Linked DNA regions of Homo sapiens: region 2 is linked to region 1. The links are contacts of gene promoters, found by promoter capture Hi-C in blood cells and fetal thymus (Javierre and others, 2016). All regions are on one chromosome and are shown on one strand. The core of a region is centred on a gene start or on the middle of the fragment in contact, and the rest is flanking DNA. Distances in the headings are between cores, read along the strand shown. Region 1 holds the start of MDFIC (MyoD family inhibitor domain containing). Region 2 has its middle 100 kb from the start of SNORA25B.

Region 1 (2,921 bases), core at 128-2,627:
CAGAACTGATCTGCTTCCATCAGACAAATTCCAAACAGTCCAGGCTCCTAGATAAGTTTTCAAGAGAGGTAATGCACTTGATTTCATACCATTTCTGAAATCTCCAAGTGAAAAAAAAATGTTAGTTATGTGTAATGGGGCAAAATGTCATTTGTCTTTTTGGGGAGAATGGTCTGAATGACTGTCATCAGCAACTTTGAAGGCTGTTTTTTTTTTTTTTTTTTTTTTTTTAAATGGAGTCTTGCTCTTGTCGCCCAGGCTGGAGTGCAATGGCACAATTTCTTCTCACTGCAACCTTTGCCTCCTGTGTTCAAGCGATTCTCCTGCTTCAGCCTCCCAGTAGCTAGAATTACTGGCGCCCGCCACAATGCTCAGCTAATATTTGTATTTTTAGTAGAGATTGGGTTTCACCATGTTGGCCAGGCTGGTCTCGAACTCTTGACCTCAGGTGATCCACCTGCCTCGGCCTCCCAAAGTGCTGGGATTACAGGCGTGAGCCACCGCTCCCGGCCGAAGGCTGGCTTTTTTACCATCATTGAAATCAAGTTAGAATGCACTGTCTCTTCATAGGTAACAAGTAAATCTTTGTAATCAATTGGAATAAATTCCAATGAGCTTTTTGAAAAAATGAAATTTCTGGGATATTATTAATGATGCACATAGAAAGACAGTGAATCCAATGCACATTTTCTTCAGTTTTGATAACGTTACTGTGATTCCTCGCTTGTCCAAAAGAATCGAAGAATGAGTTCGTTCTAGCTTTCTACAAATGAATTCTGCATTTCATTCACAATGAAATAAAAGAGCAAAAGTTATCTGAGTATACCACTAAAGTACTATATATCTGTAAATTACTTTACACTTGCTATCCTCGGCTCATCAGATTAAGCTACAATCAGAATGTCTCATTTATAAACGGAAAGTTGATCAGCTTTTTACTTCCGACCACAAGTTTATCTCCCCTCAGATACCACTGATCCAGTGAGGCATTTAGCTTGCCATAGGCCAGGCTGGGGCCAGTACCACGGCATCCGCAAGGGTGCCAACCTTGTTTGCCTGGATGCCTCCAGCAGATTCGCGCAAACTGCAACTGGTTTTACATCAGGAATACTGTTTGACCAAAGAGTAATTTAGGAGCCAGAGATGAAGTGAGTAAACGTTCAACCGAGGGGTCAAGGTTTCAAACGCACACGTTCTCTATCCCACCAGGAAAGTTCGATACTGTAACAGTGTTTTCGTTTTTCCTTGTCCACCCTAAAGGTTTTCGTCAGGATATTCCCAAAGCCTCCGTCGGTCTGGGGGCAGGAGTAGGGAGAAGGGATGAGGTGACTTTTTGGGCGGGGTGGGGGGAACGTCTGGGCAGCCAGGGACCTGCCCATTCACTCCCCTTTCCCAGCCCCGGGAGGGCGCAGCGCCCGGGTGGGGAGCCCGAGCCAGCCCAGGCCGGCTCTGGCCTCCTGACCCAGACAGCGCAGGGCGCGAGGGATCGCGCGGCCGAGCCCGGGTCGCGCCGCTCCCAGCATCGGGGCCGCTAGCCAAGAGTTCGAGGCCTTCCCGATCCGGATGTGATGAAAAAGAGCAACAGAGGGAGAAGTGTTTCAGGATTGTAGGAGTGGAAGAGGGGAAAGAGAGGCAGAGAGGGGGAAGGCCCCCTCGCAGGGGAGCCGGCTGGAGTGAGCTGGCTGGAAAGAGGGGGCGGAGTGCGCGGAGTCAGAGCCGCCACCGCTGCCGCAGTTGCCGCCACTGCGGCGTCTGGGCTGAGCCGGAGGGAGGCGGGAGGACGCGCAGGGGCGGCCGCCGCCGTCGTCAGGCCACCGGGGCGAAAATGCGGCCGCTGCCGGAGGCTCGCTAACTTTCCGGGGCGGAAGAGGAGGAGGAGGAGGAGGAAGGGGCTTGGAGCGACTACGGGGGGATGCGGAGGTAGGTAGTGGTCTCCGGGCGGGGAAGAGGAGGGGTTTGATCCCCATCCCCGGGGTTCTCCCAAACCCGATCTCTCTTTCCAGCCCCTCCCCGCTGGGTCCACCTCGGACCCCTGGGACCCCGCCGCTGTCAACTTGCGCTGTAACAGTTTTCTTCGCAAGTTTCAAATCAAAACTTCCCCGGGGTGGAGTTTGAGGGAGGGAAGTGGAGGGGGAGGGAACGTCCCGCAGGGGTGGTGTGCTCTTCTCTAAAAACATTTTTTTTTTTAATTTTGTATATTTTTCCGCCAGAAGCAGTCAGTTCCCTGCACCCAGCACCTCACAGCCCTTCCTCCGTGCGCCCTGCCGGGCGGCGAGCTAGGCGGCAGCGGCGCGGCGCGGGCTCGGCGGAGCGGCCCATGTCCGGCGCGGGCGAAGCCCTCGCTCCCGGGCCCGTGGGGCCGCAGCGCGTGGCCGAGGCGGGCGGCGGCCAGCTGGGCTCCACAGCCCAGGGTGAGTGCGCGCTTGCAAGTGGCAAGCTTCTTTGTCATTGTTGCATTTTTCAGTTTGCTCACAAGTGCACAGATAGGGGTGGGGGGAGTGCTGTGAGGAGGGGCTCCCACTCGTAGTTGAGAACTTTTGCACAGTTCGCGTTACTCAGGCAAGTTCTTCAGGATCCTTGCCCTAGATCAACAACCGGGTAAGAGGGCGGGAACCGTTGGTCCCTCCACTCCCCCTTCCTTTGGTTGCGAAGAAACAGGATGACAGGATTGCTTCTTTCTTAAGCATATGCATGTTTGGGCCTAAGACTCAATGTGTAGGTTCTGAAGCGCTTCTCCTCTAGGTCTCTTCAGCAGATCCAGGACTGCCGCAGCTCTCTGAACAAGCGTGCACTTACTCCATTTCATCTTTCTGTTTCTTGTTGGCTCCTCTACCACCCGGTTGATAATTCAGGTTTCTGTGACCAGTAGCTTTGGAATGGCTTATGCTTGTTTTCAATAACTGGTTTGTTTTGAAATAAAT
Region 2 (2,921 bases), core at 140-2,639, 560 kb after region 1:
AAAAGGCACAAAAGCCAAAGGAAGGGAGTGAAAAGACAGACTGTAGTGAAGTGGCGCGTCCGCCGCTGAAAGAATATTTCTTACACGGCTGCCTAGTGCTGCAGGAAGCGGGATTCACCACTCTGGTGCCATTCACCAACCCACAAAGGCACACACAGTAATGTGGAGTCAAGGCCTAATTAAAATCCTTGAACAGAACGTAGGTCTGGAGAATGGCATACATTCAGGAACTGCAGTTTAAAAAGGGAAAGAGCGAGAGCGCGGGAAGGAGACTGGAGAGAAGAAAGAAGCAAGGAAGGAAGGAAGGAAAGGTGGAAAGACCAGAGAAAAGAGAGAGAAGAAAGAGAGAGGAGAGGCGGGGAAGAGAGAAGAGAGGAAAGGAGAAAAAGAGAAGAGAGAGGGGAGGAGAGCCCTGTCACCAGCAGTCAGAGGCTGCACTGCGAGACTTTGCTGCCCTCAACAGCCTTCCAGTGTAAGCGCTGCCACCCAATTTGCTACAGAGTTAATTGGTTCTTTGATGTCTCAAGAAAGGTGCTGATAGAAGGAAGAAAAAAAAAAAACACGAGTCTTCCTTTCTCCATGGACTCCTGTTTATCTATTAAAAAAAAAAACTTGCTGATTCCAAAGGGCTTCCTTTTGTCCCCTCCCAAATCACCGCTCCCTTTCTCAAATTCTCATCACCTCGCTGTTATCCTAGATTATGGCTTTTTCTCGGGGTCACGATAGTACCTTTTTTATTTTATTTTATTTTATTTTTTTGAGGGGACTAATTTTCACTTGCTAATTTCCCAGCTGAAAAAAAAAAATGGGAGTGCAGCGGGCTCCCTGCTGCCACTGCTGATCAAATGGAACAACAAGGGCAATGCCTGCTAATATGGGAAGCTATTTAGTGGCACGCTGCCTTTTGAAATGATGATGATAATGGATTCAGTCTGCTCATTAATGGAGCCAGAGTGCTCATTAGAGTGAACAAACAAGCCAGGTTGTCAGTACTGAAAATGCCAAGTGCTTGTTTCCATTTTATCTGAGGAGTCTAGAGACAGTGATTTTACCATTTATTTCCCCTTTCTGCGCTTGACCCCAGAGCTCCCCCCAGCATCAAAGTCCCTCATCTGGTGGAGCCTGTACATTTGCAGCGTCTCCCTGGCTCATCACGGCTTCAAGGTCACAGGCACTAAAAGAGCAGCGGGGCTGGGTGTGTGTCTGTGTGTGTATTACACTTCTACGGGATTTTGTAACCAATAAATAGTGTGTGGGGGGGTGGGGTGGAGGGTGGGCGAGAGAAAGAGAAAATGAAAAGGAAGGAGGGAGGGAAAAAGGGAGACAGAGTTTTGAAATAGAAAGTAGATAAAGAGCTTTGGTGTGTTTGGAAATCTTTTAAAGACCAATTAACTAATTTAGAATGTAAACTTCACCACCGAGGTGGGGTCAGACTCCTCTCCAGGACAAGAGCGAGCCGCCAGACGTGAGCTAAAGAAGGTGCTGGGGGGCAGAACGGGTACTGGGGCGCCTGGAGGAGAGTTGAGGGGCCTGAAAGACTCTGGGGGCCCAGCTCGGTCGGTGGGTTTATTCCAAGTGCCCCGTCCCAGGCTTGCACTCCCCAAAAAGGAGCCGAGACGGGAGGGTTGAGGCGTCTCGGCTGCCTCCGTGGAGATCCCGAGAAAAGCTCCTGCGCTCCAAGTTAACTTCTCTCTGGGCCGCGCGGCGCAGTGGAGTCTCGGTGCAGCCCGCGTCCCTGGAGGCGCGCAGCGAAGCCCAGCGGGCGTGGACAGGGAAGGGGCGGGAAGGCAGGGGACAAGGCGGGGTCCTAAGGGTTGGTGGGGTTGAGCTGGGGGGGGGGGGGCGGAAAAAGAGATCTGCGGAGAAGCCTTCGGAGAGGCTAAGGAGGGCTAGCCTGGGGCTGACGAAGGCAATGCTCTTTAGAAGGGCACTGGGGGCAAAGAGGGTCCCCCAAAGCAGCTCATCTGGGCGCCCTTGACTAACAGTGCTCTGAGCTTTTTGCCTTGAGACTCTAAAGATCAAAATTCGATGTCCTCGGAATTATCTGCGGAACACGTTTGTTATTGAAAACACTTTATAACTATAAAATTGTATTTTTTTTAGGCTGAGAGAACTAATTTGCTCTTTACTATTTTCTGTACCTCGGGGAAATAAGGAGAGGTGATGCTCCTTGTTCCATTGAGGAAGAAATAGAGAAACATTTCTTTCATTTTTTTAAAGTTTTGAATGGAAGAGGAAATGGTCTTAACTGATTATCAAATAACATACTGTCATCGGCACTTAATCTTAGAGTTTGCTTTTTTCCTTATTCTGCATTACTAAGTTTATTCATTCAAGTAGATATGTGTGAGAAAATTTAGATGTCCTAAAGTCCCCTTTGATTTCTAATTTCTTGTATTTCTGCACAAGTTTTGCCATAATTTGGCATTCTCTTCCTATACAATTTGAAATTCTAAATTTTAACTATTGAAATTTAAAATGAGAAATATTTCACTTATTGCATGTGAATGATATATAATTTGTAAGATAATAACTCATAACACTGATTGTTTTCGTGTAGCTTATCTACAAATTCAATAATGCTCCTGAAAATAAGACAGATTCCATATTGTTTCTCAAACATATTCCATTACCAAAGGGTTAATTTTAAGTTACATAATCTAGTGAAAATGCAAAATCTGTACAATCTTGTGGAATCATAAGACAACTATATTCAATAAAATATTAGGAATAATTGTGGAGTTATTTTTGGATGAAGTTGCTCTTGTTTTTATATATAATTCTTGCTTTTCTCTTTGTCATCTGTGGAATTCTCTAAATTTTTAAGGTCTTGTGGTTTCAGAGGTTATTCAAAAAGAATGTGAAAGTTCAAAATATTTTCTTACCTTTTAGCTATTGAAGAAGGGAAAATGGCTTGGAAA

Evidence for each region. The method cuts DNA at HindIII sites, captures the fragments that hold promoters and counts their contacts. A CHiCAGO score of 5 or more calls a contact.
Region 2: a contact is called between a fragment that was not itself captured here and the fragment with the promoter of MDFIC in region 1, in 3 of 17 cell types (total B cells, M1 macrophages and naive B cells). The highest score is 6.7, in total B cells.

The regions. Positions count from the first base shown.
Region 1 is chr7:114,920,717-114,923,637 of GRCh38, forward strand. It overlaps MDFIC (MyoD family inhibitor domain containing), which reads left to right and starts at 1,378. Exons shown (of 5, transcript NM_001166345.3): 1 at 1,378-1,920; 2 at 2,211-2,411. The coding sequence starts at 2,318. RefSeq lists silencers at 1,318-1,457, 1,788-1,837, 1,848-2,027, 2,258-2,397. The HindIII fragment of the contact is 10,461 bases long and covers 1-2,435 here.
Region 2 is chr7:115,475,816-115,478,736 of GRCh38, forward strand. No RefSeq gene overlaps it. Among named protein-coding and RNA genes, the nearest start is that of SNORA25B, 100 kb to the right of the region's middle. The HindIII fragment of the contact is 3,063 bases long and covers 1-2,921 here.